2 separate regions of the Homo sapiens genome follow, and region 2 is linked to region 1. Evidence: promoter capture Hi-C in human tissues and cell types (Jung and others, 2019). All regions are on one chromosome and are shown on one strand. The core of a region is centred on a gene start or on the middle of the fragment in contact, and the rest is flanking DNA. Distances in the headings are between cores, read along the strand shown.

What was found. The method cuts DNA at HindIII sites, captures the fragments that hold promoters and counts their contacts. A contact is called where the count stands out against the background at its distance.
Region 2: a contact is called between the fragment with the promoter of PTPN9 here and the fragment with the promoter of RPP25 in region 1, in 1 of the 25 tissues and cell types used here (psoas muscle).

Annotation. Positions count from the first base shown.
Region 1 is chr15:74,953,448-74,958,989 of GRCh38, forward strand. RPP25 (ribonuclease P/MRP subunit p25) reads right to left here and starts at 3,325. Exons shown (of 1, transcript NM_017793.3): 1 at 971-3,325. The coding sequence starts at 3,136. The coding sequence ends at 2,537. RefSeq lists enhancers at 1,141-2,074, 2,075-3,008, 3,009-3,942, 4,937-5,493 and a silencer at 2,968-3,617. The HindIII fragment of the contact is 8,066 bases long and covers 927-5,542 here.
Region 2 is chr15:75,576,156-75,581,754 of GRCh38, forward strand. It overlaps PTPN9 (protein tyrosine phosphatase non-receptor type 9), which reads right to left and starts at 3,160. Exons shown (of 13, transcript NM_002833.4): 1 at 2,559-3,160. The coding sequence starts at 2,621. RefSeq lists silencers at 2,368-2,767, 3,028-3,517 and an enhancer at 2,727-3,325. The HindIII fragment of the contact is 16,601 bases long and covers 608-5,599 here.

The DNA of each region.
Region 1 (5,542 bases), core at 2,075-4,574:
AGCCTGGCCAACATGGTGAGACCCCTTCTCTACTAAAAATACAAAAACTAGCCGAGTGTGGGGATACACGCCTGTAATCCCAGCTACTCAGGAGGCTGAGGCAGGAGAATCGCTTGAACCCAGGAGGCAGAGGTTGCAGTGAGCCGAGATCGCACCACAGCACTCCAGCCCGGGCGACAGAGAGATACTCCGTTTCAAAAAAAATAATAAAAAAAAATCCATTGCAGCCTTATCTCCGTGACAAGACTAGCAGACCCTGCTTTCTTTTTTTTTTTTTCGAGACGGAGTCTCACACTGTCGCCCAGGCTGGAGTGCAGTGATGCAATCTCGGCTCACTGCAACCTCCGCCTCCCAGGTTCAAGCGATTCTCCTGCCTCAGCCTCCTGAGTAGCTGGGATTACAGGCGCCCGCCACCATGCCTGACTAATTTTTGTATTTTTAGTGGAGACGGGGTTTCACCATGTTGGCCAGGCTGGTCTCAAGCTCCTGACCTCGTGATTTGCCCGCCTTGGCCCCCCAAAGTGCTGGGATTACAGGATTACAGGCATGAACCACCATGCCCGGCCTCAGGCCCTGCTTTCATAGTCCTGGTAACCCGGCTATCAGTCACTTGTTGTCTTGGAAAGTTGGACCCTTTTCAGAACCAAGACCAGTCTCCCTTAAGCTTCTACCATGCAGGACCTTGTCCAAGTTTTATCACTGCCTTTAGATGCTGAAGTCCAGGAGAAGCTAGGCCATCTTGTCAGGACAGTTTACATTCTTTCCATGCTTCTTGGGCCACCCCTGAGAGGGTCAGACAAGCAAACCCAAACCCCTTGGCCCTCTCCAGGGACTCATCAAGAGCAGGAATTTGGGGAGAGCAACGAGGGACAAAGTCTGGATGACAAAGCTCACTCCAAAGCTCAAGCAGAGATACTGCAGGGGAGGGAAACCTCCCTAAGAGCCCCTCCAGTCAGCCACAGAACGTATCTCTTGTCACCAGCAGGATTTATTTCAGGGTTCTGCCAGCAAAATGACTTATAAATACATTCTTCCGCATCTCCCCCTTTCCAGGGGTGCTGCTGAGTTGCATGGGATGAGATCTGCTTCTGAGATCCTGGGGCTGTATGCCACCCCCAACTCACCAGAGCTCTTCCAGCACACAGCAGCACCCCCACCCCCCAGCTGGCTTGGAGTTGGGCAGAGAAGCTTATGAGGCTGTTATCTCTCAACAGACAGCTGTGCAGGGCTGGAGGCAGCAGCTTATCAGGAGGCCTGCAGTGATTCACAGCCCAAGACCCAGCTTCTCTGCTGAATAGTAATTTCCAGCAGTGGATTTGTGCTCAGTCTCTCTCCTCCCCCTTTCCCAAGGGTGTGCTGTCCTTTCTCAGAGAGAGGGCAGTGAAGGGGAGATCCTACCCACAGAGCTGGGGGCTTTGTGCCAGCCTTCTGGGTAAGGTTCAGTTTATTGTCTGGAGGCTGCAGATTCAGGGACCTCAGCAGGGTCTGCCACCCTTTGCAGTGACCTCCAGGAGAGTTCATCGATGCTGTCCTTCCACTCCTTCCTTCCCCTCCCAGAAAAACAATGTGCCGCTCCCTTTCCCTTAGTGGCGATGTACAGGGGTACACGGGCCCCCATTTGCAACAGCCTCTGAGGCCAGGGCCAGCCCGGGAGGGCGGAGTGGGGGAGGAGAGAGGAAGAAGCCAGGGACTGGGCAGTGCCTTGCACCATTTTGAAGCTGTTCAGTCTCTGTGCCTGACCCTGAAGACTCCAAAGACTCAGGACGCAAGGCTGGAGGGGAGGGGAGACACAAGGGGCCAGGCGAGAGCTGTCTCTGCACAGGCGGGTGGTTAGAAAAAAAATGGGGGACACAGCCATTTTTGTGCTTGTTTTATTGGAAGCAAGACTCCAGCCAGCTGCAGGGCTCAGGGGAGGAGGCCTGGAGAGTTCAGTCCTGGGTCTCCCTCTGGGCCAGCAGGGGGAAAAGGGGTGTTAAAAGAGCTAGAACCCTCAGAGATGCTCCTCTGAAGCAGGGGAAAGAAAACTAGAAAGGAAAACTGTCCCAGGGCGGGGAGCGGAATAGGGCCCCCACATCTCAGACTCTCCTACCCTCAAGCAGTTAATTCTCACCCCCTGCCTTCCTCTGTCAACGGTGGGGGTGATTCCAATAACTCTTCTCAGCTTCCATACTTCAGGTGCTCTTCGTGAATGCTGGGTGGCTTTAACCCTTGGGGGTCCCAAACAAGTTTCCAGAATCCCACTGTCCACCATTCTCCCCCAAAGAAGGTCCCAGAAAAGGTGAAGTTCCGTGTCTTCACGCAACACGGGCATAAGCAGCAATTATCGCACGAAGTTTCCCTAGGGTGGTCGGGGATCCTCTCCTGCCACTCCTGGGGCCCCTCTCTTGTCGCCTTAAGGTCCATGCTACCTGTCTTGAGGAGCTGTGTCCAGGTTGTGGGCTCCGGAGGACCGAGGAGTGAAAGGCTGGAGGTACATCTGAAGGTGGAGGCGCTGGCGGAAGATCCTGCCGGACTAGGTGGCCCACAGTCCGGAGTTTCAGGCCGTCTGATCCTCGTCCGCAACCCCTGGCTCGGGTTGCGATCGCTTCGCGGAGCCTTCTCCAGCTGCGGGTTCCCCTAGGCTCCTCTTGGACGCTGGCGCGGCTGGCGGGGACGAGGGACCAGGATGGGGATTCGGGGGCTGGTAGCCGGGCTGTCGCGGATCCAGCGCGTCCTTGGAAAGTAGGATGGCGAGGCCGGGCACGTTCTTAAGTACGCTGAGACTAGCGGCCGGCTCGCCAGGCGTCTGACCCTGCGTGGGCCCAGGCGGGAGGCTCTGCCACACCTCGCGTACGCTCCGGTAGCGCAGCCGCGTGACCTGGTGCAGGCCCGCCAGGCGGCGCTTGAGGATCTCGGCGCACGTGACGGTTTTGGTGGTGGCCCGGCCGCAGCCGCTGAAGACGATGGCGCGCGTGGCTGGCTGCGCCATGCTGGCGGTGGCGAAGGCCATCAGGTTCCGGATCTTGCTGCCTTCCTTGACCCGCATGTGCACCGCGCCCGGCGCCAGGTCTGCGAAGGGGCCGGAGCCCGGGCCGCCTCCCTCGGCCCCGCACCCCGCTGGCGCCTCTTCGGAGCGCACCTTACGGAAGTTCTCCATGCGCCGTCGTCGCCGGGACCGCCGGCTTTGCCATGGGGCGGCCTCAGCCCCGGGGCTGCATGGCCGCCGGTCGCGCCTTGCAAGGGCCAGCAGGGGTAAGGGCGCCGGAGCAGCGCAGACGCCGGCGGGCGGGCTGGGACGGCGCGATCTCGGCCCCACTTCTCTCGAGCGGGCGCCGCTCTACTCAGCGCTCTCGGCGCCGGGTGCTCCGCGCCTTTAGCTGAGGCCCCGCCCCTGCCGCCAGGCCCCTCCCCTGACCCGGCCCGGCCGGGCCCGCCCGGGCCCCAGCCTCACTAGCCTTTCCTGGCGAGTCTGGGTCCTCAGCTACGCGGGCGTGGGAGCGGGCGCGCTGCGGGGCGCATGAGCAGGTGAAGGTGAAGTTCCACTATAATCGCCATCAGCGCTCTGAGAGCCAACCCTCACAAACCGGCAGTCTAAATAAAAGCTGCGCTTGCCGTGCAAACACTGCTTCAAATCCGGTATCCGAGCCCTTCCCATTTGCAACTGAAGGCCGCCCCTCGTCCCCTCCCAGGGAGAGATTTCCAAGAGGCTTGCTGGGGCCTTGCCCCTCCTCCCCCGCCCCGGGGAACACCCCCACCTTTTTTCCGCTCCCAAGTATTCTTGCCTCAAGGACAGCTAGTGCGCGGTCAGCAGAGTGCGGGAGGAGCTGGCTGCGGCTCCACTCCGCGCCTCCCCGCGGGCGATTACGTCGCGGCGTGGTCCTCGCGGGGCGCGGAAGACCCAGACTTCAGCCTCGCCACGCCTGCCCGGAGCTCGAGGCTCCCGGACCCCCGTCCACCCCTGGGACGTGAGGAGTGAGGCTTTGGGCCAGGCTGTTCCCCGAGGCGCGTGGGGAAGCGGGCGTGACCTCTTCTGAAAAGGCGGTAGGCTCGCTCCACCCAGGCCCTAGAGCCCACCCTTAGAGCTGCGCGCTTTAGGGTGAGCCAGGCACGATGCCTTGCCAACGTGGCCGCCCCCTTCCTCCCAGGCGGAATTCGCTCAGGCAACATTGGCCCCTTGAGATCCAGTGGGGTCCTTTTCGAAAGGAGGCTAGGTGAACGCAGGTTTTAAAAAAGAGAAGGGAGGGGCCGGGCGCGGTGTCTCACGCTTTTAATCCCAGCACTTTGGGAGGCAGAGGTGGGCGGATTACTTGACGTCAGGAGTTCGAGACCAGCCTGGTCAACATGGTGAAACCCCGTCTCCATTAAACGTACAAAAATCAGCTCGGCGTTGTGGCACGCTCCTGTAATCCTAGCTGCTCGGGAGGCTGAGGCAGGACAAGCGCTTGAACCCGGGAGCTGAAGGCTGCAGTGAGCCGAGATCATGCCACTGCACTCCAGCCGGGGCGACAGAGCAAAGCTCTGTCTCGAAAAATGAATAAATTAATTAATTAAATAAAATACAAAAGAGAAGGGAGGGATACCCCATTCTCCAGGATGTGATTATTATGCATTGCATGCCTGTATCAAAACGTCTCATGTACCCTCTAAATATAGACACCTATTGTATACCCACAAAAATTAAAAAGACTTAAAAAAAAATAAAAGAGAGAAAGAAGGGAGGAAGATGGGGAGTTGAAGCCCTGGGGGCATTATGGAACTACTGGATGCCTCTCCGGCGGAAACTCCACGGGACCGAAAGAGAGGCCCGGGGTCTCCTGCCGGGTGAGAGAAGCATTAGAGAAAGATGAGATTGGGGGCTGTCAGGACTACTGATGGAAGGGAGGGGGTCTGAGAAGGGGCCCGACCCTCCCTAAAACTGCTCTCGGGATTCCCCCGTCCTCCTTCCACCCGCCCTACGCAGTCAGGACTGAGAGAGGGCGGCAGATCTGGTCCTAGCCAGGGGACTGTGACGGGGCGTGGCGGGGAGGGACACAGAGAGCTGGGGCGGGCGGGCCACCGGGAAAGTGCTGGGGGCATGACAGTGCCTTGGATTGCTGGGCCTCAGTTGGAGATGGGGCTGCCAGATGCTGTTCTCCCTCCTCCCGCTGTTCTCGCCCTCTGGGCATCTGCAGCAGCTCTCAGTCCCTGCTGTTCAAAACCAGGGTTTACTTCCTTGTCACTTCTTGGGAGCGGCCCTCGGTCCCTGCTGTTCAGAACCGGGATTTACCCTCTTACCACTTCCTGGGAGTGGCTGCGGCGACTGGACCTTGGCACCGCAATGTGTGAATGGCTGACCCCCTCCCCGTCTCCTGGTGGGATCAGGAACCCTCGGGGTATGCTCCGAACCGGGACTTCGGTCTCGGTCCAGTCTCCATGGGCCCCACACAGCGGTGGGGGCTGGAGGCACAGCAGCCTTGGGAAGAAACAAAGACTGTCCGCAGCGCGTAGCGGGGCGTGGAGAACCGAGGGCTGTGTAAGGTCAGGCCCTGAGAAAAAGCCCCCGAAAGGCTGGAAGTTACGTTGG
Region 2 (5,599 bases), core at 1,910-4,409, 620 kb after region 1:
AGGGAGGCAGAGTTTGCAGTGAGCCGAGATCACAACGCTACACTTCAGCCTGGCAACAGAGCAAGACTCAGTTAAAAAACAAAAGGGTACTTCTGGCTGTGTGCAGTGGCTCACACCTGTGATCCCAACACTTTGGGAGGCCAAGGCGGGTGGATCACCTGAGGCCAGGAGTATGATGAGACTAGCCTGGCCAACACGGTGAAACCCCATCTCTACTAAAAATACAAAAATTAGCTGGGCATGGTGGGTACCTGTAATCCCAGATACTCAGGAGGCTGAGGCAGGAGAATCGCTTGAACCCGGCAGATGGAGGTTGCAGTGAGCCGAGATCACGCCATTGTACTCCAGTCTGGGCAACAAAACCCAAACTCCGGCCAGGCGCAGTAACTCACGACTGTAATCCCAGCACTTTTGGAGGACGAGGCGGGCAGATCATGAGGTCAGGAGTTCAAGACCAGCCTGGCCAACATGGTGAAACCCCGCGTCTACTAAAAATACAAAAATTAGCTGGGCATGGTGGCAGGCGCCTGTAATCCCAGCTGCTCGGGAGGCTGAGGCAGGAGAATCGTTTGAACCCTGGAGGCAGAGGTTGCAGTGAGCCAAGATCAGGCCACTGCACTCCAGCCTAGATGACAGGGCGAGGCTCTGTCTCAAAAAAACAAACAAACAAACAAAAAATCAAAACTCCATCTCAAAAAAAAAGAGAGTACTCTTATGTGATATTAAACTAAAATATGGTAACATTAGGCATTACCATAATTAGAACTATACTGCTTTTGTTTCAATATTTTGAAATGCTTGTAAAAAAATAATATTTTGTAGAAAAAAGAGATAAGATTTTAAAAACACACACACACACAATCTCTTGACTTTAATAAACATTTTGCCGTTTCCATCCTAGTCCTTGTTAATGCCCATCACATTCAATTCAGGGTAAAAGATAAGGTTTTTACTAGTTAAACACATCTGTATATATGTGTATGCACTATGTACAAAGTAAAGCCAATACCATGTCAATACTATCAATACTTTAATATTTACTTTTCCTGGTTTTAGTTTTCAAATTTGCAACGGATGCTATTTGCATAGAATACTGATGGCTTTAAGTCTTAAAAACAGAAATCTGACTGACCCAAGGAAAAGGATGAAAGAAAGAGATTTTGTCCCTTTAAAATCAGCCAACACATCCTATCTTAGTACTGAAGTACTTCCCAATTCTGGCAGAATGGGCTCCTTGGCCACCTGCTTGCACTAGGGTCTGACTAGCATTTTATTAACATCCAACTGCAGTTACCAGGACATTCATTACCACTGCTTGTACAAAGCAGAATTCTTTTTAAATTTTTTTCCCATACAGATTTCATCACCAGGTGTCAAAAGACAAAACCGTGGCCTGAGGCCAAATAGAAAAATGTCATCTCCACAAATAAGGAGAAAAGACAAGGACTTTAAAAAATCAGGTCAACAAGCCCATTAGCCAATAATAGTTTGTAAAACTGGACTGTCTTCACACTAGAGGCTGTGCTAGCAAATGTGGTCCTTGGAAACAAGAGCTGTAGAGCTTGAAATGGGTTGCCAGCATGGTTTGCCTTTTTCTTTTTTCATGTTTATTTTTATTTTTTTTATTTATAACATGGAATCAGACTATGACTATAATCGAGCATAGCTATGGCGGGGTATGGGCAGTGCCAAGGAAGAGACAGCGAAAAGCCCGTAGGGTTCCCAGTCTAAGCTAGCAGACCTTCCCATCTTCCTCAGGAGTGGTCCCTGTCTCCGCAGCTGGAATGTGCGGGAGGGAAAGTTACAAGGGCCCCCAAAATGAGACAGCAAACCACTTCCTTCTGAAAACTAAAGGTCATAGGCTTTTAAGGAACAATAGAGCTCAATGTAAGCTTCAGAAAGATGGAGACAGTCAGATGAGACGAGGGTAGGGAAGCGCGGGTGAGGAGATGCGCCCCGTCTGGGATAGCTGAATAGGGGGGTCAAGGCCAGGGACTTTAGGAACACGAGAAGGGCTGGATCTTCCATAACCTGCCCAAGTGGGCCTGAGAAACCTAAGAGGCTCCTCTGAAAATCTAGGGCATCTATGCATCCAATACTCTCAGCCCTCTCCTCGGGAAGGGAGATAATCCCCACAGGAAGCACCCCCCAAACTGGGGCTTTTCCTGCCCTTCAAAAGCCACAAACCCTCACGGAAAACATTTACAAGGGAGTGGAAGGGCCGGGGGCAAGCAGCGGTTCTGCAAATCTCGGGAAGAAGGCCCCTGGATCCAAGGAACTTTGCCCCTGGAATAGGGGGTGGGGTGCGGAGGGCACCGTCTGAGGCTGGTAAGCCTCGGCGAAAGAAGCGGCGGGAACGGGAGTAGGGTCCCGTGGGTCCCCCGACGAGGGGGTGGCGGCCTGGGGCGCGGTCGCCGGTGAGGGAGGCCCGCGAGCCGGGCACGGGAGCGGGGGGCTGCGGCCCCGTGGCTGCAAAGAGCCGGCACTCGGGAGGCAGAGGCCGGCGTAGGCCTCGGGGGCCCGGACACACCCAACGCGGCGGCCTCGGGCCCGCTTACCTGCTCCTCCTCCGGGGTCAGCTCCGGCGCCATGTCGGGCCGGGGCGCGGTCGCGGGCTCCATCCCCCCGCCACCGCCGCCGGGCGGACAAAACTCGCTCGCGAGCGCGGGAGCCCGGCGCGCTCGGCCTCCGCTTCCGCGTCCCCGCGCCTCAGCAGCCCGGGGCCGGCTCGCGCATAGTGTGGCCGGCAGGGCCCGGCGCCTGCAGCGGCCGCAAACGCCGCTTCTGCTTCCTTAAGAAAAATCTCTCCGAACTGCCGCTCTCTTCCGGGAGGAAATCCTTTTTTATATTATTCGCTCCGTTCCTCACACTCCCCCTTATCTCCTGGGGAAGAAAAAGTGCAGGCGAAGAGCTAACAGCCACTCGGGATTTAAAAGGAAATAGGAAATCAGGAACTTTTAGAGCCGGGAGCGAAGGGTCGGCGGAAATTTCCCGAAGGCCGCCGACCCCCTCGGCGCCCCGCTTCCTCGGCCGCGCTCCCGCTCCTCCACAGCGCCACAGAGCTCGGGGCCGCCCAGCCGGGCCGTCCTCGCGGACGCTGGCCCTGCGACCTGCGCGGCTGCCTCAGCCAGGCTCCTCGCGGGCGGCCGCAGCGAAAGGGAGGGAGTGGAGAGGGAGCGAGGGAAACGCGCCCCCCTCCTGACTCACGGCCAACGCTGCGGCCGCCCCGCGGCCGCCCGAGCCCCCCGCGGCTCCATTGAGAAACTGAGCGTCTCATTCACAAGCTGGCGGCGAGGAGGGCCCGGCGGAGCGAGGACGCAGTCCGGGAGGGGGAGACAGAGAGGAGCCCGGGCGGGGGAGGGGACCGGGAGGGGGAGGGGACCCGGGCGGGGAGGGGACCCTAGCTGGACGGAAGGCAACTCGACTGCGGGAGGGAGAAAAAGGAAGAAAAGAGTATTTCGTGAGGCTCAGATCCTCGGAGGAGGAGGAGAATACGTTCGTTTGCAAATTATCTGCTGACTGGCACCTCTCCTGGGGTTAACTTGCCGCTGCCACCTACGCGTGAGAAACCCACAATCCTCAACTATTTGTCGCTTGCAGCCTGAAAGACCCTGGAAAGGTTGCCTGCCAGGCCAGGATGCTTAGGTGGAAGGAATCGCACCTGCCTCCCTCTCTCTCCCTCCTTACTGGCTGCACCCTGTAATTCATCTCCAGTGTCGCTAATTTTAATCCCCCATAGAAACGACATCAGACTCCGAACATCATTCAGGAATGACGCGGCCTTTGCAGACCTTTGATTTTCACTAGGGCAAGTGCAGCAAAGGGTTCAGGATTAGGGGTACAGTCTTGGAGTCATTTGGGGAGGAATGGGGCATAGAGAAGGCAAGGCTGGGTCTGGTACGTTGTTGCATTATTCCAAGCCAAAGATAAATATTCCAAAGGGACCCAAAGTCCACAACTAGTTCCAAGGCTGAAGCCCTGGAGCCAGTCCTGAGGGACCCAAAGGAGGGGCCTTCAGACAACAGGAAGGTGCTGTGAGTTGTGATGCTCCTATGATTTTTTTTTTATTTTTTTTTTTGAGACGGAGTCTCTGTGTCGCCCAGGCTGGAGTGCAGTGGCGCGATCTCGGCTCACTGCAACCTCCACCTCCCGGGGTCAAGCGATTCTCCTGCCTCAGCCTCCTGGGTAGCTGGGATTACAGGTGCGAGCCACCACGCCCGGCTAATTTTTGTATTTTTAGTAGAGACGGGGTTTCACCATGTTGGTCAGGCTGGTCTCGAACTCCTGACCTTGTGATCCGCCCGCCTCGGTCTTCCAAAGTGCTGGGATTACAGGCAGGCGTGAGCCACCGCGCGCCTGGCTTTTTTGTTTTTCTTTTTTTGAGACGGAGTCTCACTCTGTCACCCAGGCTGGAGTGCAGTGGCGCGATCTCGGCTCACTGCAAGCTCCCCCTCCCAGGTTCACGCCATTCTCCTGCCTCAGGCTCCCAAGTAGCTGGGACTACAGGCACCCGCCACCGCGCCCGGCTAATTTTTATTTTTATTTTTTTTATTTTTTTGTATTTTTAGTAGAGACGGGCTTTCACCATGTTAGCCAGGATGGTCTCAATCTCCTGACCTCGTGATCCGCCCACCTCGGCCTCCCAAAGTTGTTGTTGTTGTTGTTGTTGTTTTAACACAGGGTCTCACTTTGTTGCCCAGGCTGGAGTGCAGTGGCGTGATCACAGCTCACTGCAGCTTCAAAGTCCTGGGCTCAAGCAATCCTCCCGCCTCAGCCTCCTGAGTAGGTGGGACTACAGGTGCACACCACTGCACCTGGCTAATTTTTTTTTTTTTTTTTTTGGTAGAGATAGGGGTCTTACTATGTTGCCCAGGCTGGTCTCAAACTCCTGGTAAACTGCCTTTGCAAAATTATAACTGATGATTTTATGACAGTGAAAGAAATCAGACCTAACTGACTCTATCTTGTTTCTAACCCTTAAGCTGTCCTTGTTCATTCCTGGGCATAGGCCGAACTAACTTTGGGAAGGAATTCAGTTCATGGTTTGACTCTGAAACAAAATTGATAATAGCCCTTTCCCGAAAAGACCCCCTTCTTCCCTGGGGTCCAGTCTGCCTTTGCAGGACTAACAGATTAAGCTACAAGATTAGAAATTACAATTTAGGGGTCATGCAGCCATGGGCTCCAAGAGTCTAAACCTCCCCAAACTGCTCCTGGGGATAACATCACTATTGTAAAACCTAAGATCAGTGCTTGAGATATTTTGCAGACCCTGCACCCAGTGCATCAGCTGATACCATCCAGACTGGTAATCTGGCCCAAATAGGTCTGCCATCCCAACCAGGAACAGAAGACAGCAAGAAAAACTCATTTCAACTCCCTATGATCCAATCTCAAACCTGACCAATCAGCACTCTCCACTTCCTAAGCCCCTACCCACCAAATTATCTTTAAAAACTCTGATCCCTTAATGCTCCAGGGAGACTGATTTCAGTAATAATAAAGCTCCAGGCCGGGCATGGTGACTCACGCCTGTAATCCCAGCACTTTGGGAGGCTGAGGCAGGCGGATCATGAGGTTAAGAGATCGAGACCATCCT